Linked DNA regions of Homo sapiens: regions 1, 2 and 3 are each linked to region 4. Evidence: promoter capture Hi-C in 16 types of primary human blood cells and fetal thymus (Javierre and others, 2016). All regions are on one chromosome and are shown on one strand. Each heading gives the region's core, a stretch centred on a gene start or on the middle of the fragment in contact. The rest is flanking DNA. Distances are from core to core; before and after follow the strand shown.

Evidence for each region. The method cuts DNA at HindIII sites, captures the fragments that hold promoters and counts their contacts. A CHiCAGO score of 5 or more calls a contact.
Region 1: a contact is called between a fragment that was not itself captured here and the fragment with the promoter of GBP6 in region 4, in 7 of 17 cell types (activated CD4 T cells, non-activated CD4 T cells, naive CD8 T cells and 4 more). The highest score is 11.6, in activated CD4 T cells.
Region 2: a contact is called between a fragment that was not itself captured here and the fragment with the promoter of GBP6 in region 4, in 2 of 17 cell types (non-activated CD4 T cells and total CD4 T cells). The highest score is 7.7, in non-activated CD4 T cells.
Region 3: a contact is called between a fragment that was not itself captured here and the fragment with the promoter of GBP6 in region 4, in 3 of 17 cell types (activated CD4 T cells, non-activated CD4 T cells and naive CD8 T cells). The highest score is 8.3, in activated CD4 T cells.

The regions. Positions count from the first base shown.
Region 1 is chr1:89,168,287-89,174,505 of GRCh38, forward strand. It overlaps GBP7 (guanylate binding protein 7), which reads right to left. Exons shown (of 11, transcript NM_207398.3): 2 at 3,460-3,668. The coding sequence starts at 3,649. The region is part of intron 3 of LOC105378842 (a long non-coding RNA gene); the gene reads left to right. Among named protein-coding and RNA genes, the nearest start is that of GBP7, 4.6 kb to the right of the region's middle. The HindIII fragment of the contact is 3,033 bases long and covers 2,022-5,054 here.
Region 2 is chr1:89,211,814-89,218,568 of GRCh38, forward strand. No RefSeq gene overlaps it. Among named protein-coding and RNA genes, the nearest start is that of GBP4, 16 kb to the left of the region's middle. The HindIII fragment of the contact is 2,042 bases long and covers 1,529-3,570 here.
Region 3 is chr1:89,150,715-89,156,837 of GRCh38, forward strand. GBP7 (guanylate binding protein 7) reads right to left here. Exons shown (of 11, transcript NM_207398.3): 4 at 1,954-2,063; 5 at 1,554-1,750. All of the region lies in intron 3 of LOC105378842 (a long non-coding RNA gene), which reads left to right. Among named protein-coding and RNA genes, the nearest start is that of GBP7, 22 kb to the right of the region's middle. The HindIII fragment of the contact is 1,023 bases long and covers 1,181-2,203 here.
Region 4 is chr1:89,361,783-89,368,931 of GRCh38, forward strand. It overlaps GBP6 (guanylate binding protein family member 6), which reads left to right and starts at 2,277. Exons shown (of 11, transcript NM_198460.3): 1 at 2,277-2,345; 2 at 6,747-6,959. The coding sequence starts at 6,770. The HindIII fragment of the contact is 2,752 bases long and covers 1-2,735 here.

The sequences.
Region 1 (6,219 bases), core at 2,288-4,787, 190 kb before region 4:
GTCAACTAGGTCTGCTTTTTAACCCCTTTGTGCTTTGGCCAAAATCTAGAGCTCAGAGTAATAATAGGTCTCTCTGTGAGTAGAAAATGTCTTCACTTCCATATGGACCAGAGAAAACAGAAAAACTGAAAATAACCTTTTAAAAAATATTCCTAAAATATTTTCCACCCATGCTGACTAGTTGAGCAAAGCAAAACGCAAACAAAAGAAAGGTAAATTTGTTACTAAATTCAAGACTGCTTGGAGCATGTATTTTTCCACCAGCTCTAGCTAAAATATAAACACCTGATGAATTAACCACTATACTCATTTGAGACTGATTTTTTTTAAAAGGAAGACAAATATTTTTATACTTAAAACCAAACTGGCCAGGTGTGGTGGCTCACACCTGTAATCCCAGCATTTTGGGAGGCCAAGGCGGGTGGATCACCTGAGGTCAGGAGTTCAAGACCAGCCTGACCAACATGGAGAAACCCTGTCTCTACTAAAAATACAAACAACAACAACAACAACAACAACAACAACAAAAAACGGTAGCCAGGCATGGTGGCGGGCTCCTGTAATCCCAGCTACTCAGAAGGCTGAGGCAGGAGAATCGCTTGAACCCGGGAGGCGGAGGTTGCGGTGAGCTGAGATCTCGCCATTGCACTCCAGCCTGGGCAACAAGAGCGAAACTCCGCCTCAAGTTAAAAAAAAAACAAAAAACAAAAAAACTCCTGTGGAAGCTGCAGTTTACCCCAAATTTAGTCCACAGCCTCCATAGAATTAACAGTTAAAGGCAAATGGAAAATCTCAAAAGGTTAGCCATTTGAGCAAGTAACCTTAACTTATTCTGTTTTTTCAGAAAAATAAGTTTGGATTTAGCTGTCCTTTTTACAAACAAGTGAGTTTGTATCTCTGTTTTACCATGTTATGACTAAAATTTTTAAAGTGAAAAACCCTGTGACCTTTGCTTGTGTATGTATTTATGTTTGCATGTTTTGTGTATGTAATAATTTTCCCAAGATATGTGAAAGAGCTCTATTTAATTGGCTTAAAGTGTCAACGAAGCAAACTTAAAAGAGCCTCATGACTGTTCTTGCTGTACTTGTATAAATAATCAGGCTTTGTTTGATGAGGTTAAATTTATTCTGCAAACAAAGAAACCTTATCTTGGTAATAACTGGAACGACTAGAGGAGAAAATTTATGATTAAGAAAGGAAAACTATAGTTCATCTGTCATTAGATTGCAGCCCTATGCATTACTTTTGAGTTTATTATTATTTATCTACAACCTGGACTAAATTTTGAATTCTTCTAGGTTTGTCCAACCCAATTTTCTGGCCTGGAATTGCTAAAATAAAAAACTGCTCTGTTCCTGAAGCTCTATACACTAAAGCTACACAACTCAATGTAAATTTCAAGAGATGAGTCTCATGTCTCATGTTTGGGCCACACAAAAAGTTCACCAAACCACTCAATGCCATACCCAAAGACATTTAGTGTGTAAACCAGTATGAGAAGTTGATGGCTTCATGCTATGGACAGCTTTTTCTAAGAATGATAGAACAATACTTATAAAAATGAGACTCTTATCCTTCTTAAATTTTCTTTGCTTGTGCCTTCTTTTTCACTTGACAGGATAATGCTATAGTTATAATTTCATAATCAGCAGCTTCTGTGCGTACTTGATGGAATGTTGGATCTGTCATGCCAATCCCAAATCTTTACCTGACCTAACAGATGCTTTCTTCCATGTAGTGAATCACTTTGGCAATATTCCTAACACAACTTTTTGTTCAAATTGTACCAGTGATCCCTTTTTACAGAGTTAGCACTCTCGGCTTTAATTTAACCAAGTTATGAGATGCTAAATAATAGAATCACTAATCAAACTACATAAAAGACTCAATGCCTATAAAAAATCTTACCCAGTTCCACATGGTCTTTTAATTTGTTTAATTGGCCTCTTGGTTCAGAACCATCATCCAAAATGAATTTGTTATGCTCCTGTTGGTTTTGCTTTGCATTATTTTCTTTAAGCTTTGTACCTGTTACCTGTCTGACTTCTGCAGAAACGACACTCCTAACAGAATAATGCTGGCTCAGCACTTAAAGAATATGCTGAAAATGTGGAATTGAAAAAATTGACTTAATAATGAATTCCAGGTAGAATTAGCCTGAAACCCACTCCTTCCCAACCTCCTTGTTGCTCAAATGTGGCTAAAATGGTTTTGAAAATGACTCCCAGTCACCAATCACTTTCCCCTGACTTGGGACCAAACCAACCAAATCAAGTGCATCCAAGCACTAGGGAACACAAAGTATAAAACTACAGGATGATCGATCAGAGATGCTTTCAGAGAAAGATCTTGATCAAAGGGGGAACTGCAAAAGTTGTCAGAAGCAAAATGGAGTCACTTATGCCAAACCCTAACAAAATGGAGTCAGGAGTTCATGAAGGAAGGGCTTTCATGTATACTTTCTTGTAGTGGAAACTGCCATTAAGACATTGCCAAACTACAACCTTGCGACAAAGGCTACTTCTGTACTTCCAGTAATAGCCAGTCCTAACCACAATCTTGCAAGTGGCCTTACTTGCTGCCATCAGGGTCCCTGCAGTCAGGGTTCTATGCATAAAACTCTCTCAAGCAACAGCTAATGCACATGTCCCCACCTGCAATATGATCCTGTAAACCAATGAACTTTCATTTTACATCAACTGGCGTATATGTCTCCTTTTTGCCTTTAAAAGTTTCTCACTGCCTTAACATTTCCAGATGAGTTTATTATTTGTTATAGCATGCATTTCCAGAATTTATAAATCCCCTGCTTATTCCTGAATATATTCATTTCTTTGGAGAGTGACTATCTGTTGTTATTGTGAGTTAACAGAGGAACTCAAGATATGGTAGTCAAATCACTCATTTCCTGAATGATGAAACTGAAGAGTAGAAATAGTAACTGATTGGCTTAGTTAGAAAGACATACAAACTACACTTTAACATCAGCCTTCTGACTGGTAGCTTGGTGCTTTGTAAGCCACACTGAGCCCCTGACACTGGACAACAGTCTCATGTAAAAGAGATAAGAGAAATTATAACCAATAGTGACCTTAATTACAAAAAATAGAGAAATTAGAATATCCAATATGGATTGAAACATTCATTTTATCTTAAAGTTCTGTGGAAACTTGCTATCACTACATAAATATTTTAGTAAATATTTAATAATGCATTATTATTTAATTTTTTTATTAATACCTTATTTATATATGAAATGTGAAAATAAAGGCAAAGTGAGAAGAGTCAGTTGACTCCAATCCTCCAGAGTGAATTTGAAGGGTTCACTGATGAATTCAAAGTTAGCTATCAATACTTATCCCCAACACTAACTTTCTCTCATCCCATCTTCATACTAGATACTGACTGTGTAACTGGACAGATGGGGCTCATCCATGCTTTGCTGGTGCCACTCACCTTTGTTCTTCCCAGCCAGCTTGTTCATTAGGTAGGATTTGCCTGTGCGGTAGAGGCCCACAATTGCCACCACTACTACAGGCTGTGTAATGGCAGACAGGATTTCCAGAGCTTCTGAATTCACCACCAGATGCCCTTTAGTGTTCTCAGTGAGGCACACTGGGCCTGGCATGTGGATCTCTGATGCCATGTTCAGGGCGTTCCTCTGTCTGCAAGGAAAAAATGAAATGGAAAGTAATGTCTGGTAAGTCAGTTGAGCTGAAATCTATAATAGGGCATAAATCTTTGTTTTCTATTCTTGAACATTGTTTCTTGTGCATTTCTAAGGAGACCTGTGGCCCTTTAAGGCTGTCCTATAGACTGGGCCACTGTCTGCCCTTTAAAATAATTTCATTTTGAAATAGACTTACAGAAGCATGATAGGTATGAAGAGTGCCCATACACCACTTCCCTGGCTTCCCCTAATGTCGATATTTTACTTAACCATAGAACAATTACTGAAACCAGGGTTTTAGCATCAATACAATGATAACTAATCTACACTCCTTATTCACATTTCACCATTTTCCCACTAATGTCCTTCTGCTTCATGATCCAATCCAGGATCCCTCATTGCATTTAGTCATTATGTTTCTGTAGTTTTCTTGCATCTTTGATAGTTCGTTATTCGTTCTTTGTCTTTCATGTCTTTGACATTTTAGAATAGCACTGGCCTGTGATTTTGAGGAATATCCTTCAATTTGGAGTTTTCTGATGTTTCCTCATTGATTGAAGTTATGCATTTTTTTTTGCAAATGTCACAGAAGTGATGTTCTGCCATTTTCAGTGTCTTGTATTAAGGGATTCATGATGTTGACATTACTTTTTCTGGTGCTATGGCCTTAACTTTGATCACTTGGTTAAAGTGCTTGCTGCCAGATTTCGCCACCTTAAAGAGTTATGTGCCACTTTGTCACTAAAAAGTTTCCATTTTGAGAAACAGTTTGGAGACTATGCAAATACAATCTCATCATACTTTTTTTTTTTTCAGCCACTACTTTTAGTTTTTATTGATGATTCTTTTTGTGGTGTTTGACTAAATAGGATTTTCTATTATAGTCATTCTTTCTATATTAACTGGAGTTCTACCGTGAGCAAGGGCTGTTCCTTCTTTATTTATTTTGTTTGCTCATTTAATCATTTACTTGTATCAATGCAGACTCAGAGATATTAGTTTTATTCTGAGGGTTTCAATACTTTACTGTCAATATTTGTTCTGTTACTCAACTTGTCCTAGATTTTGTCATTGAGAGCTTCTTCAAGCTGGATCCATTTTTTTTTTACATGCTTCCATCATATTTTCAGCGCTTCTTTCCTTTTTGGCTCCACAACGTATTCTAGAAAAAATATCTGTATTTTTCCTGCTTTATCCCTAGAATCTAACATTTCTCCCAGTATCTTTGGTTTCTTTCAATGGATAATGGTACTTTGACACCAATATATCACTCTAGGTGTGTTCATTATTTCTAGACCCACTCAGGGGCAAAGTTAAGAAATATATGTATGTATACTAGGACACATCTATATTTATTTTTATCTGTACATTTCTATAATAAAGCTTGAGATTCTGTTGATATTTCCAGTTCCAATCCAACACATCTGAGCTTATTCAAGCTTTTGACTTTCCTTTTTAAACTATTTTCTCCAAGTAAGCTAGACTTTGGTCTTCTAACACATAATACATTTGTTTCCTTGCTCAGTCCTAGTATATTCATATAGTAGTTTCAAAATTGATAATAAGTCTGTGGAAAAATAAATTTACTTCCTATAGAAAATTATTAGTGTACAGTTCTTTTGGTCTTTAGCCTTATATACACACTCAAAACATTGCATTCCAAAGTTGCTTAGGTTAGCTTTTTCCTTCTCCACCTTCTTCAGTATGGTTAAATTATTCATTTGTAAAACAGTTAGTTACATTTGTTACTGTTTGTGTTTCAGTTTGGCCTCCTTCACATCTTGGTATCTTGGTTGATTTTAAGTATGATTTATTTTTTGAGTTTGTGAAACATCATGGTTCTGAAATGCAGAGCTTTTCAAAAAGTTACAGTCAGAGAAGTGTCACTTTTCCTTCATCTTACCACTCCACTCACATTGCAGTGGTCTTCTATTCTTTCTACCACATTCCCACCCATCCTCCATAGATACCCAATCTTGTTAGTTTCTGGTTTACGCTTCTTGGATTTTCTTTTCTCAAATGAGAATGTACATATTTTCTTTTTCACATTTTCTAACACGAAGATCACATCATATAGAAATTTGGAAATCCCTCCACATCTGTTCATAGAAAGCTTTTAAAATCCTTTTAACATGTATCTACTCCTTTATGTGGATTATACCCCAGTTTATTCAATCACTCTTCAATGTATGGGCATTTAGATTGTTTCAAATATTTTGCAATTACAAACAATGCTGCAATGAATAACTCTGCTAACGTTATGCATGTGTATTTTTATATTGTTACAGGAGTAATTTCAGGATAGAGTCCTACCAACGGGATTGCTTGGTCAAAAGATGAGAGTATATAATTTTGTAGATATTGCCAAGTTCCTCTCCAGAAAGTTGTACAAGGTTGCATTCCCACCAGCTCATCTTGTATGTCATTTTCTAGAAAATGGAATTTTTCCTAGGTGCCCCGCTTGCTCTTCTGAATTAATTACAAAATTTCCTTTGGAAGCTTTTCACGTTCACATTTAGATCTTTGGACTGAGCAAAGCTGAGCTC
Region 2 (6,755 bases), core at 1,300-3,799, 150 kb before region 4:
CTCCTGACCTTGTGATCCTCCCACCTCGGCCTCCCAAAGTGCTGGGATTACAGGCATGACTCACCATGCCCAGCCACCTAAAGTGAACTTCTTAATTGCACACAATGTATAGTGGTATTGGTGGACTTAAAGATATTAATTTGTGTACCAGGAACAAAATACCTATTATGTGTTCATTTTTGGCTCTGAGTAACACTTTAGCCTTCAAGGTTAACTGAGTAGGAGAGAACTTTGGGGTTAGTTTCCAGTTTATTTGCTTTTGCTTTTAATTTTCACTTATTTTTGTTTGTTCTCTTTTGGGTTGTACTTATATACACACACATATAAAACCATTGATGCTTTTTGGTTTCTAATGGAAGGCTTTTATTTGGCTCTATGACCATGCATTTTGTTTCCTATACATTTCTAACAAATCATCATTTGTTCTATTTATCTATTTATCTAGAATTCCTAAGCTGCCTTTGTCAAGCAAATATTGATAAAGCACACCAGCCATTTAAAATTTGGTAGATTTGCTTACCTCTAATGATCTAGAGAGCTACAGGAGCTTTAAGGTTCCTGGAAAAAAATTACTTAATTTTATAAGTTCTGAGCACTAAGTGTACTTTATTAATTTTGTTATTTGAAAAAGTAGGTGAGAATAAAAATGTTTAAATGGTGTTTATTTTCAAGGTAATTCAATTCAACCAATAAATTGAGTTGGTTTCAGATCTTTTCCTTTAGTTAATGAAGAAAAACTGTGATATGGGTACAAAGTTTTAGGAAAGATTGGCTTTGTCCTTAAGGAAATTATATTGATTGGAATTTCTCTCTTAGTTGTGTTTACCATTATTAAAATTAAGTGACAGTCACTTGGATGAAGTAGTAAAACAATGTGAGACTTTCTAATGATCTTTGATCTCAAGCCATTTATCATGGGCCTTGATGTGTGTACTTGAAAACAAAATATGTGCTAGTGTTCCACTGATTTGAAGATTTTATTGGTCAAAGTCACCTAATCATTTGTCAGTACTGTATCTAGAAAGCAATCATGGAAATATGTGATGATGCCCTTTTAAAAGAGCTGAAGGAGACATTACTGTGTGCTTACCCTTACTTTGTTTATATTTTGTTGTATAATATTTAAATGCAAACAGTTTGTTTATTCATCCTCATATTGAATTTCCCAAACTGATTTTTTTCCCTTACCATTCTTTTAAATGATGGAGAGGAAAGTTACTTGTCTTACTTTGATAAGTTTGGCATAGAGCTTATCATATTTCTGATGCCTTTGGTCACAGTTATGTTACTAGAGTGCTAGCAATTAGACATATGCAGTGAGTAACCTAACTACTCTAATACAGTGGTTTGAAGTGCTACAGGCAGTAGCTGTTAGATACCAAATCACAGTGTTTTAATTTGTAATATGTTAGAGAGAATGATAGAACTTTCCATAGTATAAATATTCTATTAACTAATCCTTGTGCTGTTATCTTATAGGCCTTTGACCCCTGGGTCTGAAAAAGGCACTGACTTCTGCCGAATCTTAAGCTTTGACATCACTCAAAGCCTCATTTTCAGACCTGGGAGAAGGTGACAATCAAAATGAACTGCCTTCATGAGACACAGGACCAGAAATTAAAACTGTGGTATCCCCCTAGGCCCAGGGACTATTGCAGAAGAGGTTGGCAAGTGAGATTGTAAGGGCTGATTTTGAGGGGTAAGATTAGTTCAGAGGTTTTCTGTAAGTTAAACATTAATATCAAAAGCACGTTAATGCAAGCATCTGGGCCTTGCATCAGACTAACAGAGGTTTTCTTGGAGCATTGATCTGCTCTTTAATAGAAAATTGTAATAGGCTATAAAATACTTATGGAAATACCCTATGGTCAAAAAAATTAAAATTAGATAGATTTGTTGATAAGGTTTTATTAAAGTTAGCTTTAACATTAAAAATACACCATACAAAGGTAAAATATGGCTTTCTCTTTTGAACAAAATTTTCATGTAAAAGATAAGAGAGTTTTGTTTGCCTTTTGAGTAAAACTACAGAAGAAAAAAATGGTGGGAGAAACACAGATTTAGTTGGCCTCATGCTGTCTTTCTTGGGTCTTATTGTTTAGGAAACTGAGTCTCCTATCAAAGAGAAAACATTTTTGTATCATAATTTTGGCAAAATGAATGACTGTTTTATGGTATCTTGTGATCCTATTTTGTGATATCAAGTGTTTTAAACCTTTGATATTTGACAGACTTTCCAACAGCAAAATTTCAAGTTCAAATTAAGTCTTTTTGACCTTAAACTAACTTTTTTTGGATATTAGGTTTCCTGAAGTCCAAGAAAGACATATTAGGTTTATTTATGTTAGAATTATACAGGAAGCATTGTCAAATTTGAAGTGGTGTTTAACTTTGGGTTTTATTTATATAGAAATATTGTTAATATGTGTTCCAAGATTGTATGACATTCCTGAAATTCTTATATATATTAATATATGTTGTCAGTAATAATTATGATTATTATGTTAGATTATTGTACACCACAGAAATAACCAAAGTTCCATGTCAACTGTGTGTCTCACTATGGTTGTCCTAAGGCTTTTGTCATCCACAATTGTTTTACTTTGATTCTTCTCAAAAAGTGACTTATAATTAGCTGCAGTCTGGGCCTTGCTTCTTTGGGGGAGTTCATGAAAATGACTCTTGAATGCAGGTTTCTGATAGCTTTGGAGATGGTGCCACTGGATTAGAGAGAAAACTTGCTGGACTCTAATTAAAAGGCTAATATGTTCAAAAAGTTTGCTAACATAATATGAAGCAGAGCAAGAGTTGATTGCACGGACGGAATAAAGGGAAGACTGAAATAATTTTATGGATTTTTTTGTTTGAAATATTACCAATTCTTTTTCTTTTGTTTTTCAGTCTGGAGAATTTTTTCTTTTGCACTATTTATGGCCTTCAAACATACTTTTATGTATATTGAATAGAGTATACTTTTGTAAACCAAATTTGAGACATATTTCTCTCTCTGCCCAATTTCTCAAGAATTTGCAAACTGTAAATTTTCTTAATTTATGGCAATGTGTTAGTTTGGATATGTTTAGTAAGAACCTGTTTTATAATGGGACACAGTTGGAGGAACTGGTTATTTTCCCAGAGCTTTGACTGAAATGGCCTTGTGAGAGGTTTCAGCAAAGCTAATTTAGGAGAGCCTATGTGGTCAATGATTCTTGCTGTACTTTGTGTGGGTAATCAGACCCAGTATATGAGCCTGAAGTTTATTTTGCAGGTAGGTTGGTCCTGCCGTGATTTGTCTTTAGTGAAAATAGGGGACTGGAGAGAGAAAAAAATGTGTTTTAGAAGAAAATTATAGTATTGAGTTAATCTTTGATTCTTGGGTGGCCACGTAGTCACCCTGAATAGGGAGCTGTCTATGATGCCCCTCCTCAGCAGGAAGCAGCCAGAAAGATCAATGACCAGATTCCCCATGATTGAGGAACTGATAAATAGAAAGGGGGGACTGAAACTGGCCTAATAGTCCCATAGACAGGTTTTTATGATAAACATAGAAATTGATCCTTCTGGTCTTAAAGCTTGAAACTTACATGTTTTATCTGAGTTTGTTCCTCTGGAAAGGATCCCAAGACCTCTCAAAAAGTATCAAAGAACTGAAACTCAGCAAATCATGGCATCGAGACAATGAGACACCAGGCCCCTCATTTATCCTGATTGCCTCCTTACTCCTTTCGAGTTCTTGTTTTCTCACACATAGTTACATCCTTCCCTGCTATATAAACCCCTAATTTTAGTTAGTCAGGGAGATGGATTTGGGACTGATTTCCCCTCTCCTTGGCTTCAGCACCCCGGTAAAGCTTTTTTCCTTGGCAATAATCATTGTCTCAATGATTGGCTTTCTGTGTGGTGAGCAGCAGGACCTACGTTTCTGTAATAGGATGTTACAGCACAGATTCTGGAGACTGCCAGAATTCAACCCCTTGGGTTCAAATCACCTATTTCCTATAAGACCATGGAGGTGAGCTTACCTCTCTAAGCCTCAATTTTCTAATCAATGTTATTGGTAAGCAGTAATGATTGCCTGATTTATTACTATACAGGTTAATAAGAAGTGGGCTCTCAATAAGTTTTCCTTACTTTGCCAGTATTAATATACTGTTTCTAGAATGGCCAAGTTGGGTAATGAGTTAATACATTCTGTAAGGGGTACATTACCAAGAAAAATTTTTTTAGGGGAAAAAACTCTCAATTGGGCTTTTAACAGACTCTCTTTTTTTCTTTATTTCTTCTAAAAAAAAAAAAACAACTAGATACACGTGCAGAAAGTGCAGGTTTGCTACATAGGAATACATGTGCCATGGTGGTTGGCTGCGCCTATTGACCCATCCTCTAAGTTTCTTCCCCTCACCCCCCACTCCCCCAACAGACCCTGGGGTTTGTTGTTCTCCTCTCTGTGTCCATGTGTTCTCAATGTTCAAGTCCCATTTACGAATGAGAATATGCTGTGTTTGGTTTTCTGTTCCTGTGTTAGGTTGCTGAGGATGATGGCTTCCAGCTTCATCCATATCCCTGCAAAGGACATGATCTCATTTTATGGCTGCATAATATTCCATGGTGTATATGTATCACATTTTCTTTATCCAGTCTATTGATGATGGGCATTTGGTTGGTTCCATGTCTTTACTTCTTTTCTTTACTATTGTAAATACTACTGCAATAAATGTACATGTGCATGTATCTTTATAATAGAATGATTTATATTCCTTTGGGTATATACCCAGTAATGGGATTGCTGGGTCAAATGGTATTTCTGGTTTTAGATCATTGAGGAATTGCCATACTGTCTTCCTCAATGGTTGAACTAATTTACATTCCCGCCAACAGTGTAAAAGCGTTCCTATTTCTCCACAGCCTCACCAGCATCTATTATTTCCTGACTTTTTAATCATCACCATTCTGACTGGTGTGAAATGTCTCATTGTGGCTTTGATTTGCATTTCTCTGATGATCAATGATGTTGAGATTTTTTTCATGTTTGTTAGCTGCGTAAATGTCTTCTTTTGAGAAGTATTTGTTCATATCCTTTGCCCACTTTTTGATGGGATTGTTTTAACAGACTCCTTCTTCCAATTTCTTTTCTTTTATTGCTGTGGACAGGAGAAATTGTAGAGGTTTTTTAAACATATCTAAAAAAGCTTTAAGAGGGAGTAGACGTGCTTACAAAGTTTTTTTTTTCTTTTTTCTTTTCTGCAAAGCAGGATGAAGGTATCCAAGGTAAGAAGCTTTTAACTCTAAAGGAAACAAGTAAAATTAGATAGCTCTGTTAGCTGAGGGTAGACCATCAGTGGCTTCCAAAACTTACTGTCCATGAGAATTATCTGCAGTGATGGTTACAAATGCTCCAAACCTGTAGTTTCAAAAAGTGCCACAAGTTATTCTGATGCACTTTAGTCATGGACCACACATTTATGAACAGTGCTCCATAAACAAATATGCTTATACCTTATTGTTATTTTTAACAATTTGTAAGTGTGACATTGAATTATTCCATATAATACAGCTTTGTAGTATCTACAGAATATTATTCATTGTGGATAATTAAAAAATAATTGAGCCTCTGTTTTAGTATTTAAATTTTCTTAAGGTAAGGACCATTTTGTTGTTGTTGTTGTTTCTCCAATGCGATGGCAAAAGACAGTCAGGCAATGTCTAAGGAAGAGAGATGAAGCAGGCTGGGGGTAGGGTGGAGAAAGCTATTCCACCCAGACCCTCTGTGAGGGGGCTGGATTTGGTCTCTTTGTTTGAGAAGTGACTACAGCTCTTGTTGCACAGAGAAGGGTAGGATGCATTCTTCCATGTCCTAGGTAGGGTTCTTTGCTACAGCCCTGAGTGGATACCCAAGGAGGAGGAGGAGCAGTGCATCCTGGGGATGTTGGGAGTGCACTGTCACCTCAAAGCCAACTCTGGACTAAATGGACATACTGGTTCTCTAGAAGCAAAGCACTCCACAAGCCATACAGCACAGGGCCACCTGCATGGTCCTCCAGCTAACTTAGCCCACCCTCTAGTGCAGTCTGTGTTTGGGAATTCATTGTTGTTTGTTAACCCAAATGTACATGAAAGGTAAAGCTTAGGAGTGAATTTACCTGGTGTGGGCCCTGCAGCCAGGGGACAAGTTCCTAGCCGCCCTTGCTGAGCCCTTCAGCTCTCCTGTGTCTGGCTCCCTGCAAATGAAATGTTCTTTTTAGTAGCTGAAAATCAAACCAGATATTGTTACCAAAACACCAGGGGTTTGTTCTAAGCCCTGATGCTCACTGCACATAAAACCAATCACCAAGATGATGAGGATTGCCAGGGAAGAAGGCTTTAATTGGGTGCTCCAGCTGAGGAAATGAGAGCTCAGTCTCAGATCCATCTCACTGACCAACTAAAATTAAGGGTTTACATGGCAGGGAAGAAATGTAACTATGTGTGGAGAAACAGGAACTAGGGAAGAGTAAAGAAACAATCGTAATTAATGAGGGTCATGGCATCCTATTGACTGGATATGATGATCTGGTGAGTTTCAGTTCTTTGATACTCTTTGAGAGGACTGGGGGTCCTTTCTTGAGGAAGGAACTCAGATAAAACAAATGTAAGTTTCAAGCCCTAAGACCACAAGTGCCAACCTCTATGTTTGTAAGAAAAAACTGTCTATGAGATTATTGGGTTGGTTTCAGTATAAGCCATCCAATTAAGAATCCAATGAGGAAAACTGAAAT
Region 3 (6,123 bases), core at 442-2,941, 210 kb before region 4:
CAACCAAACTTATGCTAATCTACTTAAGGTATGAAAAGTCAATTTCTGCACAAAGCAGAGTCAAAAAGGTACTTCTGGAAATGAAGGGAATGCATCCACCTCAAGTGAAGGAATTTGTGGTTGGTTTCCTCAGCCACTGTATGATGTCCCGTAGACTGACGATTTTTAAAATGTTTGTTGAATTATGATTAACTAAAATATGATAAGAAGTACTTTCTTTAAAAATTGTATATATTTAAGGCGTTATAACATGATGTTTCGATATACATGTACATAGTGAAATTACTACTAAGTAAGCAAATTATATATCCAATACTTTCTATACTTTTCTTCCCTTTTTTTGTGGTAAGAGTACCTAAAATCTAATCTCTGTAAATTTTAAATGTAAAATACAATATTGTTAAGGATAGTTCTCCTGCAGTATATTAGAGCCCTAGACTTTCCCACCCTATATAACTTCAAGTTTGTACCCTTCACCCACATGTCCTCATTTCCTCCCTCACCATGCCCTGGTAACCACTGTTCTACTCTCTGTTTCTATGTATTTGACGTTTTGAAATAGAATCCATATAGAAATGAGGTCCTGTCATATTTTTCTTCCTGTTTCTGGCTAATATTACATAGCATCATGGACTTTCTCAATCTTACTGTCCCCATGTCAGAAATGAAATGTTGGGCTTAAAATTTAAATGCTAGAAACAAGGACAAGATGTGGCTGGGAAAAATGTTTGAAAGAGACGGAAAATACTCAGGTCAGATTATATTAGGTCTAACATTGTCTTGCAGAGGGATTCTGTGACATATATCAGTTATTCAAAACAAATATTTGTTGAAAGGATGAACAAATGAACAAAGATGGATATTGATTGTAGGTGCCAACAGGTATCCACTCCACTAAATATAATCTGTTTAACAAATGTATAATAGATTGACAACATATTATATGAGACTGTAGAATGAAGTAGGTGATGTTATGAAAATGGTAAAATAAAGGATTTGACAGTCCTACTGGAAGCATATGTCTGTGTATTTTTTTTTTAATTTCCTGAATCATTAACTGTATGAATCTCCTTTTTCTCTAAAGGTTATAAGTATCCAGGCTAATAAAATAGACTGAGTGAAATATATTTCCAAAATTGGATCATTTGACTTCTTGCGATTCTGTGTTTACCAGCTTCCAAGCTTATTAGTTAATTTTCTCCAAATAGAATAGGAGGAGCACTTGAAGTTAATAAGTAACACAAATATATGAGTCTTAGGATGTGATAATACTAATTGTAATCCTCAATATATTTTTCATGGTACTTATTGGTCTAAAATCATTTGATAGAACTTTGAGATTTAAATTTCCTCAATGAATTTGAACCTCAGCCTCTGGGAAATTTCAAGCAAAAATAACCACAAAAATCATAATCACTTATCAATCACCAACCACCATGAGCAAGGGCCTCAATCCAGTCCAATATAAAAATTTGTGTCAGGTGTTGAACGGTAGGTCCTAGTTGATCCCACCCGCTACTGAACCTTCTCCCATCTAGGCCATGCTCTGATACCTGAAATCAGCTTCAAGGCATTCTCCAGGTACTCATCTTCTGTGATGGGGTGTCCATCTAACTTCAGCTCCAGGGTAAAATCTCGAACAGTCCAAATAAAGTCTGGAAAGAAACTCACAAACTCGCTGGAGTCCTCAACTTCATCAGGTCTGGGGCACGATTTTGCCCTGATTAGCTCTGTTAGCTCAGTCACGTAGCTGGGATCTCAGCTAAGGAAGGATAGCACCCTACACCATCATTTCCACATCTCACTTAGAAACAAGTTTTATACACATTCCCTTTTGCACTGTTTCTCTTCTTACTCAACCAGGACAACTGAGTCACAACAAAGAAGACACAGTATCAGTTTCCATTCCCCTAAACTCCATAAAACCTGGCTCTTCACTTCCTGGAAGGATACTGCAGCTGCTCCAGGGCCTGGTGGTTGATGGTGCCCATGCTGTTGTAGACAAAGCTGCTGCTTAGAAGCACAGCCAGGGCAAAGATCCACGAGTCACTCTTAGGGTCACTCTAGTGTTAAAGAAAAAAAAAAAAAAAATGGAAGCCACAGTTTAGATACATCTCAAGGTCAACTACTTGTATCCATGTAACCAAAACTGAAGTCATTCCAGTTTTCCCAAAATGCTGTGTCTAAAGGAAACACAAATGTAAGCTTTATATGCTTGCCAGCATGATTCAGTGAAATTAAATAAATCAGCTATAGAAAAAGCACCTAAACATCTCTATTTGCCCTAAAAATATTGTTAATGTATAAAGCCAATCACACGATAAGTAAATATATTTCTTCCTTTATGCTTTATCAGTGGTGCTGTAACCATTATGAGGAGAGCATCTTGGTATGAAGTCTCCTGAATGATGCTCTCTACTTTTTGTATGCAATAAACTTAAATTTTTCCAAACTTAATCTGATATTGTTTGTGACACTAGAAAGCACATTACAGATAGGACTTAAGAGTCTCCTTTTGATTCATTCACTTATTAATTCATTCATTTGGTTGTTCATTCACTATTTCAGCTGTAGTATATATAGCTGAATAGTAGGGCATGTAATATGAATTTTGAAGATCATGTTAAAGTCAAGCTGTATTTTTGCCATTTATATTGATTTTCTCAGGGCTTCTCTTTCTTTAGATATTAAAAGTAGCAATTGACACTGTCAATGTGTAAAATATTTAATGCAGTGCCTACAGCATAGTAAGTATGTAGTAATTAGTGAACAATAATCCTTTTGCAAATTTTCTCAATCATGCCTATATTAGGAATGCCAATGTTAATCAATTGAATTCACCAAAAATTGTTCAGCTATGTACAAAATGCAGATGCTGCCTTTGATTTTGTGGATGCAAAGTTCCATAATCACAAGAAGATGACTTTCAGGAGTGGCAGATAGCATTGTCAACATAAAAATGCAACCAAGATGATAACTTCTGCCAGGAGTGGAACAAAAGTCGTAATGTAAAAAACAAAACAGACAACAATCCAAAAAATGGGAAGTGAGAAGGAAGGAAAATAAAGAGAAACAAATGCTCTATGAGTTCAAGCAAGAAGTTACTATGTCTAACTCAAATAAGATGGCAGTAGGTTGAAACGAGCTGGACGTTAAGGAGTACATAAAATCAGGACTTGTGGAAATGAAAGAATTAAAAAGGTGAGAGACCCAACAGAACCCAAGTCAAAATTGTTAGGGTATGATCATATAATGACATTACAGAGTTATTTAATTCAACTGAATGAGTGAATAGGTATGTGGAGAAGACAAGGCTGGAAATAATATTCAGGGCAAGACATGAAGGTCCCTTAAATAGAATTAAATGCTGACCAAATCCACAAATTCCAAGGCCAACAAGTAATTTTGCTTCCATCAAGCATGTATATATTTGTATATTTTGGTCCCTTGAACAGTCATACTTTTGCAAATAAAAAAGTTTATGCCCATTACAATCTATTTCAAATCAATATTTTATCTTTGTTGTACACTGAAATGATGATTGATAACTTTAGTACTGTATGTTTAAATTCACTGTTTCTAAATGAGACCCCACACACATTTATAATTTTTGCAGTATGAAAGCCAAAAATTCTATTTTCTTTTTTTCTTTTTTTTGAGATGGAGACTTGCTCTGTTGCCCAGGCTGCAGTGCAATGGTGCAAACACTACAACCTCCACCTTCTGGGTTCAAGCAATTCTTCCACCTCAGCTTCTGAAATAGCTGGGATCACAGGCACCTGCCATCATGCCCAGCTAATTTTTGTATTTTTAATAGAGATGGGATTTCACCATGTTAGCCAGGCTGGTCTTGAACTCCTGACCTCAGGTGATCCACCCACCTTGGCCTCCCAGAGTGCTGGAATTACAGGTGTGAGCGACCACACCTGGCCTCTATTTTCCTTTTTTTTTTTTTAACTTTAAATTTAAGTTCAGGCTTACCCCCAAACTAAATAAAATAAAATAAAATAAAATAAAGAAGTTAAAAAATATTTTAAGTCCAGTGGTGCCCCTGAACTTAATGAAATACCATGAAAGTTAATAAAATTTAAAAAAAATAAAGAAAACATTCCTGTCTGACAGCTTTGAGGAGAGTAGTGGTTCTCCCAGCACAGAGTTTGAGATCTGAGAATGGACAGACTGCCTCCTCAAGTGGGTCCCCGACCCCCGAGTAGCCTAACTGGGAGGCACCTCCCAGTAGGGGCCGACTGACACCTCAAACAGCCGGGTGCCCCTCTGGGACAAAGCTTCCGGAGGAAGGATCAGGCAGCAACATTTGCCATTCTGCAATACTTGCTGTTCTGCAGCCTCCACTGGTGATACCCAGGCAAACAGGGTCTGGAGTGGACCTCCAGCAAACTCCAACAGACCTGCAGCTGAAGGCCCTGACTGTTAGAAGGAAAACTAACAAACAGAAAGGACATCCACACCAAAACCCCATCTGTGCATCACCATTGCAAAGACCAAAGGTAGATAAAACCACAAAGATGGGGAGAAACCAGAGCAGAAAAGCTGAAAATTCTAAAAATCAGAGCACCCCTTCTCCTCCAAAGGAATGCAGCTCCTCGCCAGCAATGGAACAAAGCTGGATAGAGAATGACTTTGACAAGTTGAGAGAAGAAGGCTTCAGACAATCAGTAGTAACAAACTTCTCCAAGCTAAAGGAGGATGTTCGAACCCATCACAAAGAAGCTAAAAACCTTGAAAAAAGATTAGACGAATGGCTAACTAGAATAAACAGCATAGAGAAGACCTTAAATAACCTGATGGAGCTGGAAAGCATGGCACGAGAACTACGTGATGCATGCACAAGCTTCAGTAGCCAATTTGATCAAGTGGAAGAAAGGGTAACAGTGATTGAAGATCAAATGAATGAAATGAAGTGAGAAGAGAAGTTTAGAGAAAAAAGAGTAAAAAGAAATGAACAAAGCCTCCAAGAAATATGGGACCATGTGAAAAGACCAAATCTCTGTCTGACTGGTGTACCTGAAAGTGATGGGGAGAATGGAACCAAGTTGGAAAACACTCTTCAGGATATTATCCAGGAGAACTTCCCCAACCTAGCAAGGCAGGCCAACATTCAAATTCAGGAAATACACAGAATGCCACAAAGATACTCCTCGAGAAAAGCAACTCCAAGACACATAATTGTCAGATTCACCAAAGTTGAAATGAAGGAAAAAATGTTAAGGGCAGCCAGAGAGAAAGGTCAGGTTACCCACAAAGGGAAGCCCATCAGACTAATAGCAGATCTCTTGGCAGAAACTCTACAAGCCAGAAGAGAGTGGGGGCCAATATTCAACATTCTTAAAAGAATTTTCAACCCAGAATTTCATATCCAGCCAAACTAAGCTTCATAAGTGAAGGATAAATAAAATACTTTACAGACAAGCGAATGCTGAGAGATTTTGTCACCACCAGGCCTGCCTTACAAGAACTCCTGAAGGAAGCACTAAACATAGAAAGGATCAGCCAGTATCAGCCACTGCAAAAGCATGCCAAATTGTAAAGACCATCTATGCTAGGAAGAAACTGCATCAACTAACTAGCAAAATAACCAGCTAACATCATAATGACAGGATCAAATTCACACATAACAATATTAACCTTAAATGTAAATGGGCTAAATGCTCCAATTAAAAGACACAGACTGGCAAATTGGATAAAGAGACAAGACCCATCAGTGTGCTGTATTCAAGAGACCCATCTCATGAGCAGAGACACACATAGTCTCAAGATAAAGGGATGGAGGAAGATCTACCAAGCAAATGGAAAACAAACAAAAAAAGCGGGGGTTGCAATCCTCATCTCTGATAAAACAGACTTTAAACAAACAAAGACTGAAAGAGACAAAGAAGGCCATTACATAATGATAAAGGGATCAATTCAACAACAAGAGCTAACTATCCTAAATATATATGCACCCAATACAGGAGCACCCAGATTCATAAAGCAAGTCCTTAGAGACCTACAAAGAGACTTAGACTCCCACACAATACTAATGGGAGACTTTAACACCCCACTGTCAACGTTAGACAGATCAATGAGACAGAAAGTTAACAAAGATATCCAGTAATTGAACTC
Region 4 (7,149 bases), core at 1,027-3,526:
GGCTTTGCTGATCCTGGAGAGACTGACCCTCCCTGGGCTTGCCAGTTCTTAGAGATACTACAGGATTCTCCTGCAAGTGTGCCTTTCATATGCAAACCAACCAACCTGGAGCCCACACCCCGCCACTTTCTCTGTTGGCTCTCATTCTCTGGGCCACTATCCATCTGCCCTACTCACCGAAAGGCCAAATATCAAAAGTAAGAACAATCCCTCTGCCCCAGAGCCCACTGAAATTATTCCAGCTAGCCAGTCCTAAACCTGCTTGCCCTGCTAGTTCTAGTTCACAGTTGCTCTCGACATTTACTCCAGTTCTTTGCCTCCTTGACTGCAATTGGAACCACCTGGAGGTGGGGCGAGGCTTTAAAAAAACACTCACACTCACCCTCAACTCTAGACTTACTAAATCAGAGTCTCTGGTGATGGATCAGAGCTCAAGTTTTTAAGGAGAACCTCAATTGATGTTTATGTGCAGCAAGTATTAAGAATCACTGGTTTAGTCTTATAACATCTAAAGGAGGCCTCCTACTAGACTCTTTACTTTAGACAAGCTCTGGTCTTTGACTTTTGGCCTCTTCATAAATGCCTTCCAAACTGAAGGTCACATTCCCTTGGTTGGCAAATGCTATTAGAAAAAAAACAGCTTCAATACTCCACTTAACTCTTTGGGCGTTCACCTTCCCTTGGAATTTGGTCTTTAAGATCATTCATGACAAATTAGTCAATTTTTAATATTGCTTTTGAAAATATTAAACATTTTTGAATCCAGAATTTTCCTTTTTTTTTGAGATGGAGTCTCGCTCTGTCGCCCAGGCTGGAGTGCAGTGGCACAATCTCGGCTCACTGCAAGCTCTGCCTCCCAGGTTCACACCATTCTCCTGCCTCAGTCTCCTGAGGAGCTGGGACTACAGGTGCCCGCCACCACACCCGGCTAATTTTTTTGTATTTCTAGTAGAGAGAGACAGGGTTTCCCCCTGTTAGCCAGGATGGTCTTGATCTCCTGACCTCGTGATCCGCCCGCCTCGGCCTCCCAAAGTGCTGGGATTACAGGAGTGAGCCACCGCACCTGGCCCAGAATTTTACATTTTTAACACAAGTCTTTGTCTGAATAGAGTATTCAGATTAGTCTACCACACTCCCCAAATCCTCAGCCTAAGTTATTGCCAAAACTCATGTCTGCTCATTCTGCCACTTGCTTCTGTTCTCAAATCCATTTAGCAGTGCAGCCATGGTAGACAGTCCCAGCATGCTGCTATGTCCTCTGTAGAGAGTCTTTCTCCTTTTCTCACTCAGATGTTTCTCCAAGCTGTGAAAGGGTGTCTATTTTGCCCAAGGGCAGCTTGTGAATTCAAAATAGTTAAAGTCCCTGGGGATAAGACTCAACCAATGGAAACTGTGGGTTGTTGGATAAATAGTCCACATCAAGGGTCCCAAACCCCCAGAGCATGGTCTGTTAGAAACTGGGCCACACAGGAGGTGAGTAGGGAGAGAGCACTAAGGCCTGAGACCTGCCTCCTGTCAGATCAGCAGCAGCATTAGATTCTCATAGGAGCTTGTACACTGTTATGCACTGCACATTCCACCTTCTATGTCCATGTATGCAGATTTTTTAGCTTCCACTTATGAGTAAGAATGTGGTATTTGACTTTCGGTTTCTGAGTTGTTTCACCTAAGATAATGAACTCCAGTTCCATCCATGTTGCTGTAAAAGACATGGTTCATTCTTTTTTTAAACCAGTAATATCTTTAGCTCTCTCTCTTTCTCTCTCTCTCTTCTGTGTGTGTGTGTGCATGTGTGAACACATTTAAAATATCAAAAGTTCTTCACTAACAAAAGACCCCAGAACTCAAGAATTCCCACTAAGAGAAAAATGCTTAAAATATTCTTGGTTTCTAAGGCTTTGCTTATGTGACTACTGTAGATTTCCTGTTTTTCTTGTGTGCCTAGGAAACTAAAGCCACCTGGGAACGGTATCAAGAAGAAAGCCTGTGAAGCCTTCTAAGATGGGAAAGACAAAAGAAAGCTGGCAGGATTGTGCTTGCTAAGGTGTGACTGTGCAGTATCTGTGGCTTTTTCTGACCTCCTCCCACCCCTGCACCCAACACCCATCCTCAAACTCACATCGGATGATTCAGGCATGGCTCTGCTAACACTTTATTAAAAGCATGGATTAATTTTACTTCCAAGTTTATTTTTACTGCACCATCCCATTTGTGGAAACAACTAGCTTACTCAGCTTTTTTTTCCTTTTATAAAGGAAAGAACAGAAAAGTAAAAGGAGGAAAGAAAACAAGAGGTGAGTGAGGCAACTGAAAACTGTTCTTGGACCTGCGGTGCTATAGAGCAGGTATGTTCACTTTCTTTTAAATGCAACTTAGTTCCTAACTCAAGACTTGGTTTCTGATTCAGAGTGGTAACTGAGGAATGGGCAGGAAGGGCAGGGTGCCTGCTGCCTGGCCTGCAGGAGTCTGTGGCTGGCTTTAGTTCTGGGGAAGCTCAGCTTCTCCACTTGAACCAGTGACAGCCGGGCACGCCGCGTCCCCCTGGATGTGCTGTTCCCTGATCATCAACTCAGGACAGCAGTGAGTGGCCTGGAATGAGCCCTGGTGGGCGCCTGCCTGGCTATCTCTCTCAGGTCCTGCGGCAAGCCCCAGAATGCAGAGAACAAGGAGCTTCCAGGCAATTATACCGGAAGGGAGAGTTTCTTGTCTATCTTTCTAGTGGTCACACTTAGGAAAGCTTCAGAATAAGAGCTCTATAAATCTCTATGTAGAAATAAACTTAGGCCCCACATCACTGGTCTTTATTACTTAAAAATAATTATATAGTCCAAACTCTGTGTGTGCGTGTGTGTGTGTGTGTGTGTATGTGTGTGTGGGGAGGGGGTGGGGGAGGAGGGGGGTGTTAGTTTCCCATAGGAACATCAGAGTCTCTTGTAGCTCTTGCTAAACAGATGGATACTTAGGCCTGGGAATCTGGGTTTGAACAATCCTCTCAGTTGATTCTTTAAAAAAAAAAAAGATGAAGAATAGACACTATGTTTAAAATAAAAAAGATTTTTTTAAAAACCACCATGTCCCATGGTGGTTTGCTGCACCTATCAATCCGTCATCTAGGTTTTAAGCCCCGCATGCATTAGGTATTTGTCCTAATGCTCTCCCTCCCCTTGCCCTCCACCCACTGACAGGCCCCAGTGTGTGAGTTTCCCACCCCCACCCCCAGCGCCAACCCCCCGCCGCCCGTGTCCACATGTTCTCATTGTTCAACTCCCACTTACCAGTTAGAACACGCAGTTTTTGGTTTTCTGTTCCTGTGTTAGTTTGCTGAGAATGGGATCTAATTAAAGAGCTTCTGCACAGCAAAAGAAACTATCATCAGAGTGATCAGGTGATTCTTATGTACATCAGAGTGTGAAAACCAGTCCTGAATAGGATTGAACAGCTGTATTTCATTTAGTAGAAGTTAAAAGGTCTGTGGTTCCCACACAGCTAAGAAACCAGAGACCTGGTTTATATAAAGTTGTTTGCAGGAGCAGCCACATCTTCCTAGAGCTGCCTTTATTGTTCACTTTAAAGAAGGGACTGTACAGTTGCAGTCACTGTAATGTGATGAACACGTTACACATCACATTACAATGCATTTCACTGTGGAAATCAGGACCTCGTGTTTGATCTCCATTTTCCTTACTCCCCTCAGTGAAGAATCAGACAAGAGCAGGTTGTACAGCAACAGCGTGCTTGAACTTTACAGTTTTGCTTCCGTGAAAAATTTATTTGTAGTTTTTGTTTCTTAGTAACTTATAGTTTGTATATTTTGTTGAAATATATAATCTAATGGACCAATTGTTATTGTAATTATTGTAGTAACCTCCATTTAATTCAACATTTACTGAAATCCTATTGTGTGGTGCATGCTATGCAAAGATATAAACTTATAATGTCTCGTTTTATTATCAAAACACCCTCCAGGTTGGATGTATGATTTAACTCACAGACCCCTATAATTAACAGGCTCAGCTAGCTTGACCTCCTTGGTCAAGGCCACATAAGTAGTGAATGATAGAGCTGGTATTTTTGGTGGCATTAGATGCATCTTGAGTGTCTGACATATCAATTCTAAACTGAGTATTTGAGGCATTTGAAGACAATATTATGTTTACATTTTTCTAATTATAAGGAAATACAGGTATCATAGAAAACCATTTTAATATAATGGCAATAAAAATGTGCCAGGAGACCTACAGAATAATTGTACTTTCAATACTAAATTTATGGAATTAAACTTCACCTCTAAAAATATTACAATTAAATCCCATATGCCTTTCACCTCGATTCACCCAAAAGTGACATTGACTTTATCTCTCAAAAAGAAATCTCTCTAACTTATCTATTAATATGTATGTACATAATTTCTCTCTCTCTCTAGATATCTATAATTTATCTCCATAAATAATATGCAATATTATATGTATTGTTATTCTTATTCTTTTTCTTATTCTTGTCTGTGGGAGTAAATTGCAGAGAACCTGACCCTTCTAGGCTACGTATTTCAGCCTGTACTTGAATTCTTTAGATTCTGGACATTCTCCTGCTTCCCTTTTGGAAAGATAGCCTGTATTCTCTAGAGTTTTCTCATCCCATAGTGGATCCTTTCCCTTCTCCCTTCTATTCCCATCACTCTTCCAAACCTGTAGATAAAAGACAAACATATAAGGTCACACTGATGCATTAGAGAACAAGTTTCAGTATATGATGATCATTAAAAAGTTACTGCAGGTTGTCGATCAAAAACCTTATAGCATAACCACTGTCTTTGAGGTAGGTTATTTTGACAGATAAGTGGTTGCAGTAGCATAACACAGAGGAATAGGTTGCCCGATTATCCAGGCTTTTGTCTTTTACTCTCTTTTTTGTTGGTAAAATATACATAATAAAATTACTATTTTACTAATTAAGAAAATACTTCGGTGACATTAGTTGTGCAGCTATCTCCAGAACTTCATCATTGTAAACTGAGACTCTCTACCTTTAAACAATGATTCTGCATTCCCTCCTCCCCCAGCCCATGGTAGCTACACTTCTACTTTCTGTCTCAATGTATCTGATTATTCTAGTACCTCATACAATATTTGTTCTTTTGCGCCTGGCATATTTCACTTGGCATAATGTCTTCAAGGTGATCCATGTTGTAGCATGTGTCATAATTTCCTACATTTTTATGGCTGAATAATAGCTGATTGTAGGTATATACAACATTTTGTTCATCTATTCATCTGTTTAGAGTCATTTGAGCTGTTTTCATCTTTTGGCTATTGTGCATAATGCTGCCATAAACATTGATGTACAAATATCTGTGTGAGTCCCTGCCTTTAATTTTTTGGAGTGTATATGTAGAAGTAGAATAGCTTGATCAAATGTTAATTGTATGTTTGGTTTTCCAAGGGACCATCATACTGTTTTCATAGTGACAGTACCAGTTTGCATTCCATGAACAGTGCACACAGGTTCCAAATCCTCAACATCCTAGCTAACACCTGTTTTCAGTTTTGAAGTTTTGGGCTTTTTAAAAAAAATAACAGTCCTAATGGGTGGGTCTAACATGTACCTCATTGTAGTTTTGATTTTCATTTACCTAGTGATTAATGATGTTGAGCATGTTTTCATGTGCTTATTGGCCATTTCTTCTTTGGATAAACGTCTAGTCTACTCTATCCATTTTTGAATTTTTATTTTTGGCTATTGTTGCTATTGAGTTTTAGGAGTTCTTTATGTGTTCTATCAGAAACATGATTTGCAAATATTTTCTCCCTTTCCATAGATTGCCTTTTTACTCTGTTGATAGTGTTCTTTGATGCACAAAAGTTTTTAATTATGATGAAGTGTGGTGTATCTAATTTTTTTCACTTGTTTCCAGTGGTTTTGATATCATACACAAGAAATCATTGTGTATGACATACCAGAAATCCAAGGTAGGCAGAACAGAAACCAGAACAGGTAGCTCCCAGTCAGGTTAGTGTGTTACAAATAAGGTCTTCTTTGCTCCCTCCACTTCAAGGGAGAGAACTGGGAAGTGAAAAACCACCTCCTCCAAACTAAGACTATGTCACTGAGTGGAGTGGGCAGAACTGGCAAACAAAATGCCATGAAATCGCCTACCATTTTGAATATGCCTTTTAAAAATATTGGACATTTGCCTGGTTGCTATAGACTTATGACTGTTTTCCAGAGCTCCTATAAGATCATTTTAGCCATTTTTTTAAAGTTGTTTTGTGATGTCTCCAAGGAGAGAAAGACTTAGAACTTCCTAGCCTGCTATTTTAATCAATTGTCCAGGTTTGTAAGCCGGGTTCTATGATTTCTGCATTCATCCTTTGTAAGACTCGTGATATCATTTGTGTATTTGTGGCTATAATAATCTACAACTTGCAGATTTTTGTGTCAGTGGGGTTGGATACTTAAGGCATGCATCACAGGACTTGGAGTATTAGTGGGCCCCCTATTATGGTAACAATTACTTGGATTTTAATAGTACTACTGAAGTAAAACTTTAAAGAAGATAATGTTCCATGTTTCATCACTTAATATCATTACAGACTTGGGAGAGTGATAAAAGAAGCCTTGTGCAGTCAGCTAATGCTAGATTACATGTTGTCCAGTAGAAACACAGAAGTCTCATTAGTCCTATGTTGATGGGTGCTTGGGAAACACTGAGACAGAGAATGACAATGTAACGTTATTTCTACTGGGAGGCTCTTCTAGGTTGGCAGTTGCCATGGAATCTGGACCCAAAATGTTGGCCCCCGTTTGCCTGGTGGAAAATAACAATGAGCAGCTATTGGTGAACCAGCAAGCTATACAGATTCTTGAAAAGATTTCTCAGCCAGTGGTGGTGGTGGCCATTGTAGGACTGTACCGTACAGGGAAATCCTACTTGATGAACCATCTGGCAGGACAGAATCATGGTAAGTGGTATCCTGGGACACAGGCCAGTTGCTTGATTCCAGCTATATCTCAGCTTCTTGATTCTCTACCCCAGAGCACATGAAGGTAGACTCCAATTCCTTTCAATAAACCAACCTTCTCATTCCAATTCTTACCACCAAACCACTACCTTACGATAATCCATTCTCATATTTTTTCCCTCATTCCCAT